Linked DNA regions of Homo sapiens: regions 2, 3, 4 and 5 are each linked to region 1. Evidence: promoter capture Hi-C in human tissues and cell types (Jung and others, 2019). All regions are on one chromosome and are shown on one strand. Each heading gives the region's core, a stretch centred on a gene start or on the middle of the fragment in contact. The rest is flanking DNA. Distances are from core to core; before and after follow the strand shown.

Region 1 (2,898 bases), core at 60-2,559:
TGATATACACATAGACCACAATTCAGTATCCCTGCTTCTGATTTCCTTTACCTTCTCATTTCAAACACTTCCTCCATTTCAATTCCAAAGGAGAGAAGCATAAAGAAGATGAAGCTTTTTTGCAATATTAAATAGGGTGGTCAGGGAAGCCTCAGTGAGGAGATAATACTTGAGCCAACATCCTGAAGGAAATGAGGGACCCAACTCTGCTGACTGGAGAAACATAGTCCAGGAAGAGGAAACAGTAATTGCAAAGGCCCTGAGGCAGAAGCCTTCCAGGCTTATTATAGAAAGTTTCTCGAGAACAGGGATTAAATCTTATACTTGGTGGTGTGGATAATACCTTACCTGCAGGAGTAATTCATGTAATATGACGATTCATAGAAGAACATGATAAATTATTGATTAATAAATGAGTAAGAGGCACCTTGGTGAAAGGTTATTAAGTATATTTGGAAATCATTTCCTGCCTGTAAGACCTTGCAATCAAATGGCAGGACTTAGGGTTCTTAATAATACATAAAATAAAAGCATAAATTAAATAAGGAATTAATATTATGTACAATGAGTAAAGTGCATTTTGAGAGGCACTATTTGAAGAGAACTTCAAAAGTTGCATATCAACTTCATATGCAGAATATTTTTCTGAGGGGTTCAGATGCTTCTACACATTTTAATTGGAGGGCTTTCAAATATTCTAGACTTAGAATGCATATTAACCTCGTGTCTTCTCCCCTACAGACCACATTTGGGTAGTTTTTCCATGCTCTTGATTCTTTTGTTTCTAATCCAATAAGAATATTGAGGAATAGAGGTAACAAAGGATAGTGAAGATCAGACATTTTCAAGCGATTCATCCAATGAAGCTTTACTGGGTACCTGCCAAGTGAGTGAAACCCTGAGATGTATATATTCTAGTGCCGAGGACAGAGTTCCACACCTAGCAGATATTTAGTAAATTTTTGTTGAATGAATTAAGTGAATGAAAGAATGAATAAATGAAAGGAACGGTCTTCTCTGAGGTATCTGGATGTGACGCCAAAAGGGTCAGAACCACATTTTCAATTCCGCTTGATAATTTCTAGAATATAATAGACGGTGCGAACAAAGAGAAAATAAATAAAGCAGTGAACTTCAGAACTAGAGGGCATCGACGCGGCAGCTGATTTTGTCTGCACACGGCCCCCGTAGCCTTTCCGTCCAAAATCATTTACGCGGCCGCGACCGGTAGTGACGTCACGAGATTTGGAGCTCGCGGGAAAACTTGTCTCTGCGTTGTGGGGAGGACGCGCGCTCGCGCGGGATTTTCAAGCGTAGGCCCCCGGGAACTCGAGCTGCCATGAGCCTCTGGGTGGACAAGTATCGGCCCTGCTCCTTGGGACGGCTGGACTATCACAAGGAGCAGGCGGCCCAGCTGCGGAACCTGGTGAGTCTGCGGGGGCCGGGAGCGTGGGAGAGGGGAGGCCCCCCGGCTCGGGGTTTCGCGCCCCCCTGAGGAGCAGTGCTTCTCCCGCCCGCATTGGAAGGTGATAAGTGCTATGGAGAAAAATAACACAGGGAAGGGGGAAGAGGTGTGGGAGGCTGGCTTGTATTTTTAAACAAGAAAAGCTCCACTGAGAAGTGGCATCTGAGCCGAGACTTGAAGGAAATTGAAAAGTCATAAATACAGAAATCCGAGCAAAGAGTGGAACAGGTAAGAGGGGACAGCAAGTGCAAAATTCCCGGGCAGGGATGTGCACGGCATGTTCTAAGAACCTCAGGAGGCCGGCGTAGCCGATAGTGGTGAACCAGCGGGAAGGGTAATCGGAGATGGGTGTATGTGTTGGGATGGAGTTGGAGTGCAGACCCAGTCAGTCTCAGAATAAGACGAGAAGCCGTTGGAGCATTTTGAGCGGAGATGACACCATGTGATTTACTTTCTAGCTGGCTTAAGATTTCTCGATGTCATTGTCATTTACAAGTAAAGTGTTGTAAATATGTATTTACTCCAAAGATCGTTTCTAATTCTCAAATAAATTGTATTAGGACGTTCCTGAGATTAGTTTTTTTTTTTTTTTTTTTTTTTTTTGAGACGGAGTTTAGCTGTTGTCGCCCAGGCTGGAATGCAATGGCGCGGTCTCGGCTCACTGCAACCTCCGCCTCACGGGTTCAAGCGATTCTCCTGCCTCAGCCTCCCGAGTAGCTGGGATTACAGGCGCCCGCCACCACGCACAGCTAATTTTTGTATTTTTCAGTAGAGACGGGGTTTCACCACGTTGGCCAGGCTGGTCTCGAACTCCTGACCTCAGGTGATCCGCCTGCCTCGGCCTCCCAAAGTGCTGGGATTACAGGCGTGGGCCACCGTGCGTGGCTGAGATTAGAGCTTTGTGAAAGATCCTCTCCCCTCTATCCTGATGCCTCTTTGTCTGTTGTAGTTGATAAAAGTGCCCAATGGCAATATTTTGTGAGAACGAACTGAATCTTCCAGGGAGTAGAGAGTAAAGAAGGATCTTTAGGAGAATAAAGTGTCTGTGGAAGACATTTATCCACTCCTTTTAAGGAACTCAAATTAATATATGATGCTGATGGAAACGTTTTTGCCCAATACCCTGGTTTTCCCTTCCGACCTTTCTTAGATTTACAGATACTATTTAATTAAGTGCGTCTTAAAAATAAGAAATAATAAGAAAAGATTGTACACGTAAAAATCATTAGACTAGTTGATAGTGTTGTGACATTGAAGGTTTTTTTTTGGTCTCTTTATTGATACTGCATGTATACTAATTTAAAATAAATTGATTACTGCAGTATCCATCATTTATAGACAAATTACATTTTCCGTCAATAGCTTTGTCTTCAGTTTTCCTAGTGATAGAATACATTTTATTTTCTGTGGCCACATTTTGTTGTACAGAATTT
Region 2 (2,955 bases), core at 169-2,668, 1.2 Mb after region 1:
TCCCCTCAGGGACGCATTCTCTTTCTCAGGGATGTTCCTTGCTGAGAAAAAGAATTCAGTGATATTTCTCCCATTTGCTTTTGAAAGAAGAGAAATATGGCTCTGTTCTGCCCAGCTCACCGGCAGTCAGAGTTTAAGGTTATCTCTCTTTTTTCCCTGAACATTGCTGTTATCCTGTTCTTTTTTTCAAGATGCTCAGATTTCATATTGTTCAAACACACATGCTGTACAATTTGTGCAGTTAACGCAATCATCACAGGGTCCTGAGGCGACATACATCCTCCTCAGCTTACGAAGATGACGGGATTAAGAGATTAAAGACAGGCATAGGAAATCACAAGGGTATTGATTGGGGAAGTGATAAGTGTCCATGAAATCTTCACAATTTATGTTCAGAGATTGCAGTAAAGACAGGCGTAAGAAATTATAAAAATATTAATTTGGGGAACTACTAAGTGTCCATGAAATCTTCACAATTTATGTTCTTCTGCCATGGCTTCAGCTGGTCCCTCCGTTTGGGGTCCCTGACTTCCCTCAACAACTAACCAAGCTTATATCCTTATGGTAGAAATAGAGACATACTATAAATATTTATAACAAACAAAATTGGGGTAAGAATCCTTCTTTTGTTCTATTGTTTGGTCAGTCAATAAATATATTTTTAAAAATTTTTGTGGGTATATAATATGGGGAATATATGTGTGGAGTACTTTAGATATTTTGATACAGGTGTACAGTGTGTAGTAATCACATCAGGGTAAATAGGGTATCCATCACCTCAAACATTTATCCTTTGGCTCCTTTTCAATAAAAAAATTTTGTTTTCTCACAGCTCTCCCCCAATACTCTCTTTACCCCCTTACCTGAAATCTAAGTGCTTTTTGTTCTCACAAGTCCTCTGTACCTTATGATGAGTGAAGAGCTTGACATTCTCCAGGTATTTTGCTTCTAGACCACTTTTTTAAAAATCACCTTCTTTCAGCAGAGTGTTCTCACTTTGAAATCTGTGTAATACCTGCTTTGCCATGATTGTTCTTATGCTTACTGTCATTAGTGATTTTTTTTAAAAAAATAAGCTTTATAAAAGTGGAAGCCTGTGTGTGAATTTTTCTGTGATTTTTTTTCTTTTTTTGACTCAGCCTTATGGGTTTGAATTCATTTGTTTGAGTATCTCCCTTTAACAACAACAACCTTATGAGGTAGACACTATTATTATCCACACTTAACAGATGTGGGACTGAACACAGTTATATGTTTAGGTAACTTGATAAGGTTATATATCCAGTAAGTACAGTGTCTGGATTTTAACACAGGCATTCTATTTCAAAGCCCAGACTCTTAACCAGTATACAGTACTTACATTCACTGGTAATCAGAACAATGGAAACTAAACTGTGATGCCCATCATCCGTCGGTATGTCTGTATCTATCTTCCTTCTGTCTGTCTACATACCTTTATATGTATTTAGATTATCAACAGATTATCTGCAGCAAAATTGGGTACAGTAATATCTTTAAGGGTCAGGGGAAGATAATTTTGAATTTAGTAATGTCCTATCCAGACATTAACATTTTAGAATAAGATAGACATAAGGACAATTTCAGGCATACAGGGACTCAGAAACTTTTTCATAGATCATTGCTGAAAGAATTATTAATGGATATACTCTAGCAAGAAGGGCAATGAACCAGGAGAAAATAATGGGATACAGGATGTAATGATGCACAAAGAAAGCAGTAAAACATGCTGTTAAATTCAAATATAGTTGAAAAATTTACATGGGAATTGGGAGAGGAAGTATAGAGGACAGTAAAATAGTAAGCTATGGTTCTGGTCCTGTTTCGGAGAAGATAGATATGCTTGCTTGCTAATGTTAAACTTGGTTAGGAAAAGAATAAATCTACATGTAAACTGCTATAATAATACCACCTACAATTTACTAAGCATTTATATGTGCCAGATACTTTGTTAACATTTTACATGGATTATAAGAGATACACACACATTCACTCTATATATGTTATATAGATTATATATTTATAATATATATAACACACACACACACACACACGTTTTAAAAGCATACACAAATGCAGGGATACTGATCGAGCAAGCATTTAATAGCTGTATCCTTTAGGAAATAGAGGGGAAGGGGTTGAGATGGGGAGGTGTGAAGGTCAAGTGGAAAATTTTGCTTTATCTTTATAGATAAATGCTTTTACATTAAAAATGCCATCACATATTATTGTTTTTTTAAAAACCTAAAGAAGTTTAAGCAGATATACCAAAAATATCAATAGCAATTAAATTTGTTTTTTTACTTTCCTTTTTTGTTTTTGTTTTTTAGTGTAATTTTGAATTTCAAAAAAGAAAAAGCCTTGAGAAACACTTGGCAGCAATGATAACATAGTTGGTTTTTTTTTGTTGTTGTTGTTGTTGTTAAGAGAGGAGGTCTTAGTATGTTTCTGAGGTTGAACTTGAACTCCTGGACTCAGGTGATCCTCTCATCTCAGCCTCCTGAGTAGTTGGGACTATAGGTGCTTGTCAATGTGTCTGATTTGTGGCGTAGTTCTTAAATCTTTTCAAACTTCTATTAAAAATAATAACTAGGGTAACTGAAGGAAGAAACAAATGCTGGGTAGGATACAGAGAAAAGGGAACTCTTATACATGGTTGGTAGGAATGTACATTAATACAACCATTATGGACAACAGTATGGAAGTTTCTCAAATAACTGAAAATAGAACTACCATATGATCCAGCAGTCCCACTACATAGGATATATCCAAATGAAAGAAAATCAACATATGAAAGAGATACTTGCACTCCCATGTTTATTGCAGCGCTATTCACAGTACTCAAAAGGTGGAATCAACCTAAGTGTCCATCAGCAGATGAATGGATAAAGAAAATATGGTATATGTGCACAATGGAATACTATTCGGCTATAAAAA
Region 3 (2,908 bases), core at 87-2,586, 1.4 Mb before region 1:
TATGTAAATATATTCTTGGGTGTGTTCTCAAGTTTTGGTTTCAAATTCTTACCCTAGAGAAAGAGACTGTTTACTCAAATCTGCAGAATTCCCAGCATCAGACCATGCATATAGAAGCACTTTAACAAATTTTGGTGAAGAAAGTGAATATAATGACTTTGCTCAGAAACTTTTGAGTTCAGCTATTTACACTGGAATTGGAGCTCTGACTAAAATGCAACAAAAAATAACAAAAACTGAAGTAGAAACTGACTTAGGAAAATTCTGCCTGGCTGTAAGATAGGCCTCTAATATCCATGGTGACAACCGCCCCTTCTGTGATAGGAGCTCTCATTTGTAAATCCACCGTGGGCCCTCCGGTTTGGAAACTCTGTGTAGGAATTCCAGTATCTGGCATTGTTGGAAGGCAATGCATTATTCCTGTCCTGGTTTCTGTTCATTCTGCTTGGCTTTTCTGCATGAAGCACACTGTGAAAAGTAACATCGTGTTCATACCGTTCTTTCATTCGGTGGATTTTTTCTCTTGAGACACCATGAATGTTTCTTCTACATGGAAAAAAAATGCATTTAGTTAAGGCAGGATACCACAATGAGTTACTTATATTTTACAAGTCCTCTAGTATTGCAGATATTGCAGTCCCTGTTCTCAGGACCTAGCTCTGGCAAAAGCATAACAAACATCTTGTTCAGCAGTTCTCTTTCAGCCTCCACTCATGTTTTTCATGCTGCCCTGCACACCCCCAAACCACCCTGAGGCTAGCAAGGAGCTAAAGCTTCAGAAATGCTTTGTTTCTGGTCCTCTCAATTACGTGCTTCAAGACATAAAAGAACACCATGAGATTTTTAAAAAATCATACATTTGCCTGTTAATGTCATGCATATATCTATCTACTTATGTTAATCAGTCCCTGAGATATATTTCTAGGAGATACTTATTAAAACAATCTTAAATTCTAGTGGGCAGAAGAATCAACTGGGGATATAGTTAGAAATATAATTACCAGAGATTCCAACTACTGAATGGGGTCCATGAACTCGGATTTTAATAGCCACCTGAGGCAATTCTGATGGAGTAGTCCACAGATCCACTTTGAAGACACTATCTGCCTATTACCATAAGAGGAACCAGCCTTACTCCTAAGAAGTAAATTCTTACCTCACTGGCTATTTTAAGTCAATGACATTATCAAATAATACAGACAGAGAATATCTGAACCCATGCATTCAATCAACAAGTTAGTATTATTTGAACATTTATTGCTTTATAAATTAGAAGCAGCATCTAGATCATAAATGAATCGCAGACTGCTCAACCTCTAAAGATCTTTAGCCTAAATGCAAAAACACCATTGACATGTGCAGTCCCATGCAGATAAAGTGCTTTTAAATGTTCCTTGATGAAGAAGCATTTTAGCAGAATGTTAAATGCATCCTTTTAAAGGACCAAGTCCAAGCCAAGATTTAGCATTTAGCATTATATTAGAAAACTGACCCAAAACTAAAGTCTTCACATTAATAATTCCAAAGTTATCAATTTCCAAGAATTACCATTTCTGGCCTGAAAACTACCATGTCCATTTCCAGCCTGAAAAGATTCTTTTGTTCGGTCTGAAATACCTGAAAATAGCAGGATACATAATGAGGAACTAGAAAAACAAAGAAGTACCTTGCTAACTCTTGAACGTTGAATTTCCAGCGAGTGTCAGGTTCTCGGAATATAACTTCATAGTTATTTTCAAGTGCCTGATTTTTCAAAAGTACATAAAACATTGAAGACATAGTATGTATGTTTGGGAATGTTTATGCTGCCATTTAACATTTACTACAAATCTTTTCAGAATTCCTTTTGTTTTACCAGTAATCCAATGCCTTAATTTATCACAATAAATGCAGTTGTTTCATTCCCATACTTAGCCACTCTCATAATTCTCCATGATAAATTTTGCTCAATTTTATCTAGTATGTAGGAAATTTGTAAAGGTTCTTTGTTTTGGACATCTTTAAAAATAGATGACTGAGCTAGTTTAAAACGTCCTGAACACCGGTATGAATGAACTCAGTGACGTCTCAAAGTCACTTATGGGATTTTTGTAGATTTACTTGTCAGATGCCTTGTCCTATTCCTCATGCCTTCCTTTAGAAAGTGGGAGTACCATAGGAACATAACTGGTGAAATAAAAGTGATAGTCACATACTTCACATCATCTTCCTTCCAAAAGTAGCTCTCCCCATTATGCAATACAATTTGGGTCAATGCTCTGGGCCCCATTTCCTTGAGTTTAGAAAACTATTATAATTTCCTTATAAACATCCAAATATTCTTTGCATTCATAAATTGACTACTACTTTATCTCAAACTGAATTTTCTATTATCACTATAATTTATTGTGTTTATAAAACATAGAGTGGAAAGAGCTAAGCAAAAAGGTTTCCTTTTCATTCTTGAGATGGGCGCTTCTCAACTGGGAAGGATTTAAATAACACAACCGGAAACCTCTCATTTCTAAGTCGAATTAATAGCTGAGGATGGCTGAAAAAGATTATACATATCCAGAAGATAAAAAGTAAAATGAGGCCGGGCGCGGTGGCTCACACCTGTAATCCCAGCACTTTGGGAGGCCGAGGCGGGTGAATCACTTCAGCTCAGGAGTTTGAGACCAGGCTGGCCACCACGGCAAATCCCCGTCTCTACTAAAAATACAAATACTAGCCAGGCGTGGTGGTACACGCCTGTAATCCCAGCTGCTGGGGTGGCTGACACACGAGAATTGCTTGAATCTAGGAAGCAGAGGCTGCAGTGAGCTGAGATCGTGCCACTGCACTCCAGCCTGGGAGACAGAGCGAGACTCTCTCTCTAAACAAAACAAAAAGTAAAATGACTTCCCTTAGGCTGCTTGTCAGTTAGTCC
Region 4 (3,057 bases), core at 236-2,735, 1.4 Mb after region 1:
TGCAACCTCCACCTCCTGGGTTCAAGCAATTCTCTCCTCAGCCTCCTGAGTAGCACCTGCCACCACGCCTGGCTAATTTTTGTATTTTTAGTAGAGACGGGGTTTCAACATCTTGGCCAGGCTGGTCTTGAACTCTGACCTCATGATCCACCCGCCTTTGCCTCCCAAAGTGCTAGGATTACAGGCGTGCGCCACCGCACCTGGCCGAATTACCCTTTTAATACACAATATAATTTAAACTTTGCCTGTAAACACTTTTGCCAGTGTTTTACAAATACGTCTTGAAAATCTGTTGTGGAAAATGTTAAGTGGCACTGGTTATCATGCAGAATATAAAGATGAATAAAATTAGTTTTATCTTCTATGAATTTAGAGAGTAGTAAGAAGATGTTTGCAAATAATTGCTATAATAGATAAAATGTGTGGTGTCAGAAGTTTTAAAAAGTAAAAAATGGTAGGACTATAAAATGTAAGAAATATTTTTCTTTTTTTGGTATTTTGGTATTAATATTGTGTTTGGATGTTCATTCATATAGTGATGTTCCCTGGGTGTTCCTTATGATGTTTCACATTTATTTCACCTTTTTCACATATTTGGTTTATGTTTTCACGATATGCCTATATGTGTGTTTATAAGTTTGTATAAACATATGCATGTAAGTATATGTACTTGTGTATTTCTATAAGCCTATAAGGTAATATATAGTAATTTAAGTTTTGTATTCTAGTTAATTTTAAATTATATCTTTAAATGTTGGTAAAATACAAACCAATAAATACAGATGATTATTGTGATTTACATATGAAAATCCAATGAAATAAACATTAAGTAAAATTTTTTGTTTTAATTTGGATTATTGTTAGAATGAGTTTTTTAATTAAAACTTTAAAAAGCAGTCACCTGAGTGCTAATATTCTTAGCTACTCAAAATTTATTATACTTTTGAGAATATTGCTTTAAGAAAAATACAGCTTTTTATGTTCCTATAGCATTTGTACAAAATGCAGTAGGAGTGGAATCATTATTCTAAATTGCATAAGTACAAATGAAATGGAAGAGCACAAAGCATATTTCAGTTCTTTTTAGGAAAAGAGTCTCTAGTGTAGTTAATATATGCAATAGCTCAAGTACTATCAAATGTAAATGATGAGGTGATATTGATGAAAGGAGGGGATTGAGGTCTCGGGGGCGCTGATGACGGATTGAACAGAAGCGGCCTTGCACTGCACGTAACTCAAGTCTGTCGTCTTCACTACTCAAAGCCATAATGGGAGGTGGCAGTTTGAAATGAGTTGCCACGGCAAAGAGTATTATTTTTGAAATGCTTTCACACAAATCACTAGGCCCTGCATACAACTTAGTTTCATGCTTTAATGTCATCAGGAGGCACAAATTGGTGTGTCTAATTGTTTGCCACCTGCCAGCAAAATGAGCTGCCAGCCAGCCAGACGGGTTTGATTGTCTGTCAGCCATTCAATAGATTGAGAGTGACAACATCAAAAATTTAACTTCAAACTCTGAAGCTTTGAGCAGCTTTTCAGAGACATCATCCCCACAAGTGCTTCTGGACCAGTGCATTTTTCAATTATACTTCCAGGGTATTGCTACCATTTGCCTTATCTGTCTTAAGGTAGCTATAATTACATTATGAGGTATATAAACATGTTTCTGAAGCACTAATGTCTGAAATCCAAGTTATGACATGTCTTTTAACATCAGATTGAATTCGTTGAAAATGAGATCCAGGATGACAGGCTTTAGAATGAAAGTCCTGAATGCTACCGGTTTCAAACACAGAATCTATCATGGGTCTTACTTTACCAATAACGTGTTTTTCATTTTAATCTTTAGTTGAAAAGTAGATATAAACTCAGTTGGTCGCTTCTTTGTAACTAAATCACACTCCTAATAATATTGTACAGTCTCAATAGAATTCATGTAGGATTTTACTTTTGTTAACCAGTTGTTTATTGATTATATTGCAGACATGCTAACAATGATTTCCTTATACTTATCCTGGATTTTAAATTTGGAAATAATTTCCTAGAACAACTGGGATAATTTGAGTTATGTTAACTTGTGTTCTACGTCGAGTGTATCTCACCCCTTAGGATGGAGCATTGGTGAATTTCAGTGTTTTGAAGTTTATAATAAAAAATTGCAACATCAAATTCTTAGAAACATTTAGACTTAATTAAAATAAACCTTTTTTCTTTACTATTACATATTTCATCAGATTATGAAATATTACATAAATGTTCTGTACATATAAGGAAAGTACTGATTCTTTTTCTATTTCCTTCAGTCATCTGTGCAGATTAAGTATATATCTTTGATTATACTCAGTGATCCGAACAGATGTGTACTCATGAAGTATTAAAATGCTAGAGATCCTCTAGTACTGTTCTATAATGAGCAAACACTGTATGTAAAGAGGAAATACAATCATAAAACTATAACAATTTTTTCAAAGTTCTGTTACTGTGAGGCAGAGAGAAATATTTATGATGGTTTTATTTTTAACAGAAAAGCTTAATAATCTCATTTTAGAATTCTTAAATCAAGTTGCCAAGTTCTCTAACAATACTATCTCTTTAGATAGATTGCTATATTTATCGATGGTTTATAAAATGTTTTAATTGAGCTATTATTTTTCATGTACTGTGTAACTTTTACTTTGGAGTAATGCTTTTATCTAAAGCCACCAATTAACCTTTTACTTACCTTTTAAACTAAAAATTTAATCTTATATATCTGCATGCTTTTTATCTTTTGAGTGTTTGGTATATATATATATCTATGTTTTGGTTTAGTTTTAACTTCCTAGGATTTCCAGAGATTCCCACTTAGTTTGAACAAAAGACAAAAAAAAAAAAAAATAGAGGGCAATGTGCTTCTCATACATTTTTAACTGTTAGTATGTTTTTAAAAATTGTTTTAAGTGTGTGATATCACACAAAGCTTATAGTTGTGTTGCTTCTTTGGCTAACAGACCTCAAACTTACACTTCACTTTTTCAGATTTTGCAAACCTCCTGTATTCAAATTACTGGGTTT
Region 5 (3,142 bases), core at 428-2,927, 1.1 Mb after region 1:
TGCAGTGGCATGATATCAGCTCACTGCAACCTCTGCCTTCTGGGTTCAGGTGATTCTTCAGCCTCAGTCTCCTGAGTAGCTGGGATTACAGGCGTGCACTACCACGCCCGGATACCTTTTATAATTTTAGTAGAGACGGGGTTTCGCCATGTTGGCGAGGCTGGTCTTGAAATCCTGACCTCAAGTGATCCGCCTGCTTCGGCCTCCCAAAGTGCTGGGATTTCAGGCGTGAGCCACTGCGTCTGGCGGCAATTCTTCTTTCAACTTAATCAGCCCTTATATACTCAAAGAGTTACTTGGGTGCACACTTTCTCATTACCTATTTTTGTCATTGCATATATCTGAGGAAGGATAATGAAACTCTACTATCAGTAGAAGGATGCTTGGATTATGAAGTGCAACACTTTATAGCCTATCTTGACTCTTCTCCCAAACTTCATAGAAGTAAAGATGGGATTTTCTGAGTCTTTTTAACTTCCTAGGACTGGAGAGCCAGGAAGACAGAATAAAGGGGGAAAAGGGGCCTTACTTTTAACTTGGTACAAAGTTTATAATGGGAACGTAACAGTTTCAGAAAGCAGAATAGAAGAATCTTAGTAAAGAAACCAAGACAGGCAGCTTCATTTAACATTCTGCTCTTGAACTCATACTTTTATTATATACTTATATGTAGGGTTATTCTGAGGACCTACTATTCATTTTTCAAATAATTTATATTTTAATGTGTTTACATAGGTAATTTACATGACACTATTTTTAGAAATCCTGACCTATTTCAACCTGTCATGATTATCTATGGCTTAATTTCTTTGAAAAGCAATGAAGTCTCTCTCTGGAATCTAGCTATAATGATCTCTAATTTTGTAGTTCTCTAACTTGTTCACACACTTAGAATGACCTTTTATGCCTTTCCAACTATGACATCTTCAATTGTTCTATGGTTTGGGTTCAAATGTTCACAAATACATAGTGCTGAAATGCATATTAAACACATATAAACAAGGGAGAAGAGAAGTTGACACAGAAACAGTAATACACAGTGTTCCAACCAATCCATGTAAGTTGCAATTTCTGGTTTCATATCTCATAATTCAAAATCCTGGAGAGCTGCCACTGAATCATTTCTTCTCCTAATCATAAATACCTAGACCTGATACACCAGGGAATATCAGGATCTTGAAAAAAATGAAATAATGGAATAACAAAATAGCCTCAGGAAAGCAGCCTAAATATATTTTGTAGGTAGGTAGGTAGGTAGATAGATAGATAGATACCTAGATAGATAGATATTCCAAGACTATAAAACTATGAACCAATTTTTAAAATAATATAATCTTCTAATATTATGTTGAGTTGTGATCATCTGCTTATGTAAAATTCAAGACACATTCAAAGAGATCCTTCAGTGATAATGTTTTAAAAGAAGGAAAAAGTTTTAGATGCTACTTGAGAAAAGGACAAAGTATAGCTGGAGTTTCTCTTTCTTCCGTTGTTATTACTTAATTACACTATCTTTCTGGCCACAAAATGAACAAAAAGATTCATTCACTTGTGTCATTAGGTACTAAGCATCAGCTGTCGATTCATTCATTTCACACATTTTACTAGTGACACTGAATACTGCAGAGCCAAAGATGAAAGGGGAAGCAATCCACAGGCCAGTGAGAAGATGCATGATTGCCATTCAGGTACTGAGGGCTGCAACGGAGGAAGGGCGGTGAGGGCACTAATGAATTCTTGCTGTGTTCTGGTTGTTTTCTTATCCTAATAACAGCTCCCTGGAAATGGTACTATTAATCCCTAAAGAAACTAAAATTCAGAGAGATTAAATGACTTTCCCAAAATCACAAAACCAATATGCAATAGAGCCATAAATCCAATTCAGGCCTATCTCATATCACAATTATTTTCTGTCTGCTACACCAAGTGGCCTCCTTCAGTTTTGCAAGACGCCCTCAGTGCCAAGGCATGAGCCCTGACCAGGGAGTCAGAGAAACTTTTTCTTTCTTTCTTTCTTTCTCTTTCTTTCTTTCTTTCTTTCTTTCTTTCTTTCTTTCTTTCTTTCTTTCTTTCTTTTCTTTTCTTTTCTTTTCTTTCTCTTTCTTTCTTTCTTTTTCTTTCTTTCTTTTCTTTCTTTCTTTTTCTTTCTTTCCTTCTTTCTTTCCCTTTCCTTCCTTCTTTCTTTCTTTCCTTTTTCTCTTTCTTTTTTCTTTTTCTTACTTTCTGTCTCTCTTTTTTTCTTTTTCTCTTCTTTCCTTTCTTTCCCTTCCTTCCTTCCTTTCCTTTTCCTTTTTTTCTTCCTTCCTTCCTTCCTTCCTTTCTTTTCTTCCTTTCTTTCTTTTTTATTTGATGGAGTCTCACTCTGTAAGCCAAGGTGGAGTGCAGTGGTGTGATCTTGGCTCACTGCAACCTCTGCCTCCCAGGATCAAGTAATTCTCCAGCCTCAGCCTCCTGAGCAGCTGGAATTACAGGGGTGCGCCACCATGCCTGGCTAGTTTTTTGTATTTTAGTAAAGACGGGGTTTCACCATGTTGCCCAGGGTGGTCTCAAACTTCTGACCTCAGGCGATTCACCTGCCTCAGCCTCCCAAAGTGCTGAGATTCAGAGAAACTTTCATGGAGGGGGGACAGATGGAGTCAAGTCTTGTGGGGTGAACAGGAGTACCACAGGTAGAACGAGGTTGTGAAAGATTTTCCAGACAGTTGGAAGAGCATGTGAAAGACAGATTTTGAGAAAGTCAAGTCTGGGGAACTGCAAGCCTTTTGGCACAAGAAAGCCACTGTGGATTGCAGAGGCAGGATGCCTAGATTCAAATCCCAACTGGTACACTTCTAAGCTTTGTAACTTTGGCAAGTTTTTACCCTCTTTTTTCTTATCTATAAAATATAGATAGTAATAGTACCTACCTAATAAAGTTGTCAAAGAGTAAATGATATAATATATGTGAAGCATTTTGTCCAGTGATAGGAACCCAGGAAGGGCTCCATGAATATTATATATTATTATTATTCTAAAGTAGCTGGAATACAATGTTCAAAGGAGAGAGTGGCAGGAGACAAGTTTGAATTGAAAGATTGAGGCCAGAACATAAAGTGCCTCCTATATTATATTTTATATAATTGAAACATCATTGAAGGATTTA

What was found. Contacts are between HindIII fragments. The study calls those that stand out against the background at their distance.
Region 2: a contact is called between a fragment that was not itself captured here and the fragment with the promoter of RFC3 in region 1, in 1 of the 25 tissues and cell types used here (dorsolateral prefrontal cortex).
Region 3: a contact is called between a fragment that was not itself captured here and the fragment with the promoter of RFC3 in region 1, in 1 of the 25 tissues and cell types used here (lymphoblastoid cells).
Region 4: a fragment that was not itself captured here is called in contact with the fragment with the promoter of RFC3 in region 1 in 1 of the 25 tissues and cell types used here (dorsolateral prefrontal cortex).
Region 5: a contact is called between a fragment that was not itself captured here and the fragment with the promoter of RFC3 in region 1, in 1 of the 25 tissues and cell types used here (dorsolateral prefrontal cortex).

The regions. Positions count from the first base shown.
Region 1 is chr13:33,816,840-33,819,737 of GRCh38, forward strand. It overlaps RFC3 (replication factor C subunit 3), which reads left to right and starts at 1,310. Exons shown (of 9, transcript NM_002915.4): 1 at 1,310-1,426. The coding sequence starts at 1,340. The HindIII fragment of the contact is 5,146 bases long and covers 491-2,898 here.
Region 2 is chr13:34,998,542-35,001,496 of GRCh38, forward strand. All of the region lies in intron 1 of NBEA (neurobeachin), which reads left to right. Among named protein-coding and RNA genes, the nearest start is that of NBEA, 58 kb to the left of the region's middle. The HindIII fragment of the contact is 4,629 bases long and covers 1-2,955 here.
Region 3 is chr13:32,402,655-32,405,562 of GRCh38, forward strand. It overlaps N4BP2L1 (NEDD4 binding protein 2 like 1), which reads right to left. Exons shown (of 5, transcript NM_052818.3): 4 at 1,667-1,743; 5 at 1-546. The coding sequence ends at 288. Among named protein-coding and RNA genes, the nearest start is that of N4BP2L1, 24 kb to the right of the region's middle. The HindIII fragment of the contact is 4,723 bases long and covers 1-2,908 here.
Region 4 is chr13:35,197,594-35,200,650 of GRCh38, forward strand. All of the region lies in intron 31 of NBEA (neurobeachin), which reads left to right. Among named protein-coding and RNA genes, the nearest start is that of NBEA, 260 kb to the left of the region's middle. RefSeq lists an enhancer at 542-2,690. The HindIII fragment of the contact is 3,208 bases long and covers 1-3,057 here.
Region 5 is chr13:34,922,053-34,925,194 of GRCh38, forward strand. No RefSeq gene overlaps it. Among named protein-coding and RNA genes, the nearest start is that of NBEA, 19 kb to the right of the region's middle. The HindIII fragment of the contact is 3,686 bases long and covers 1-3,142 here.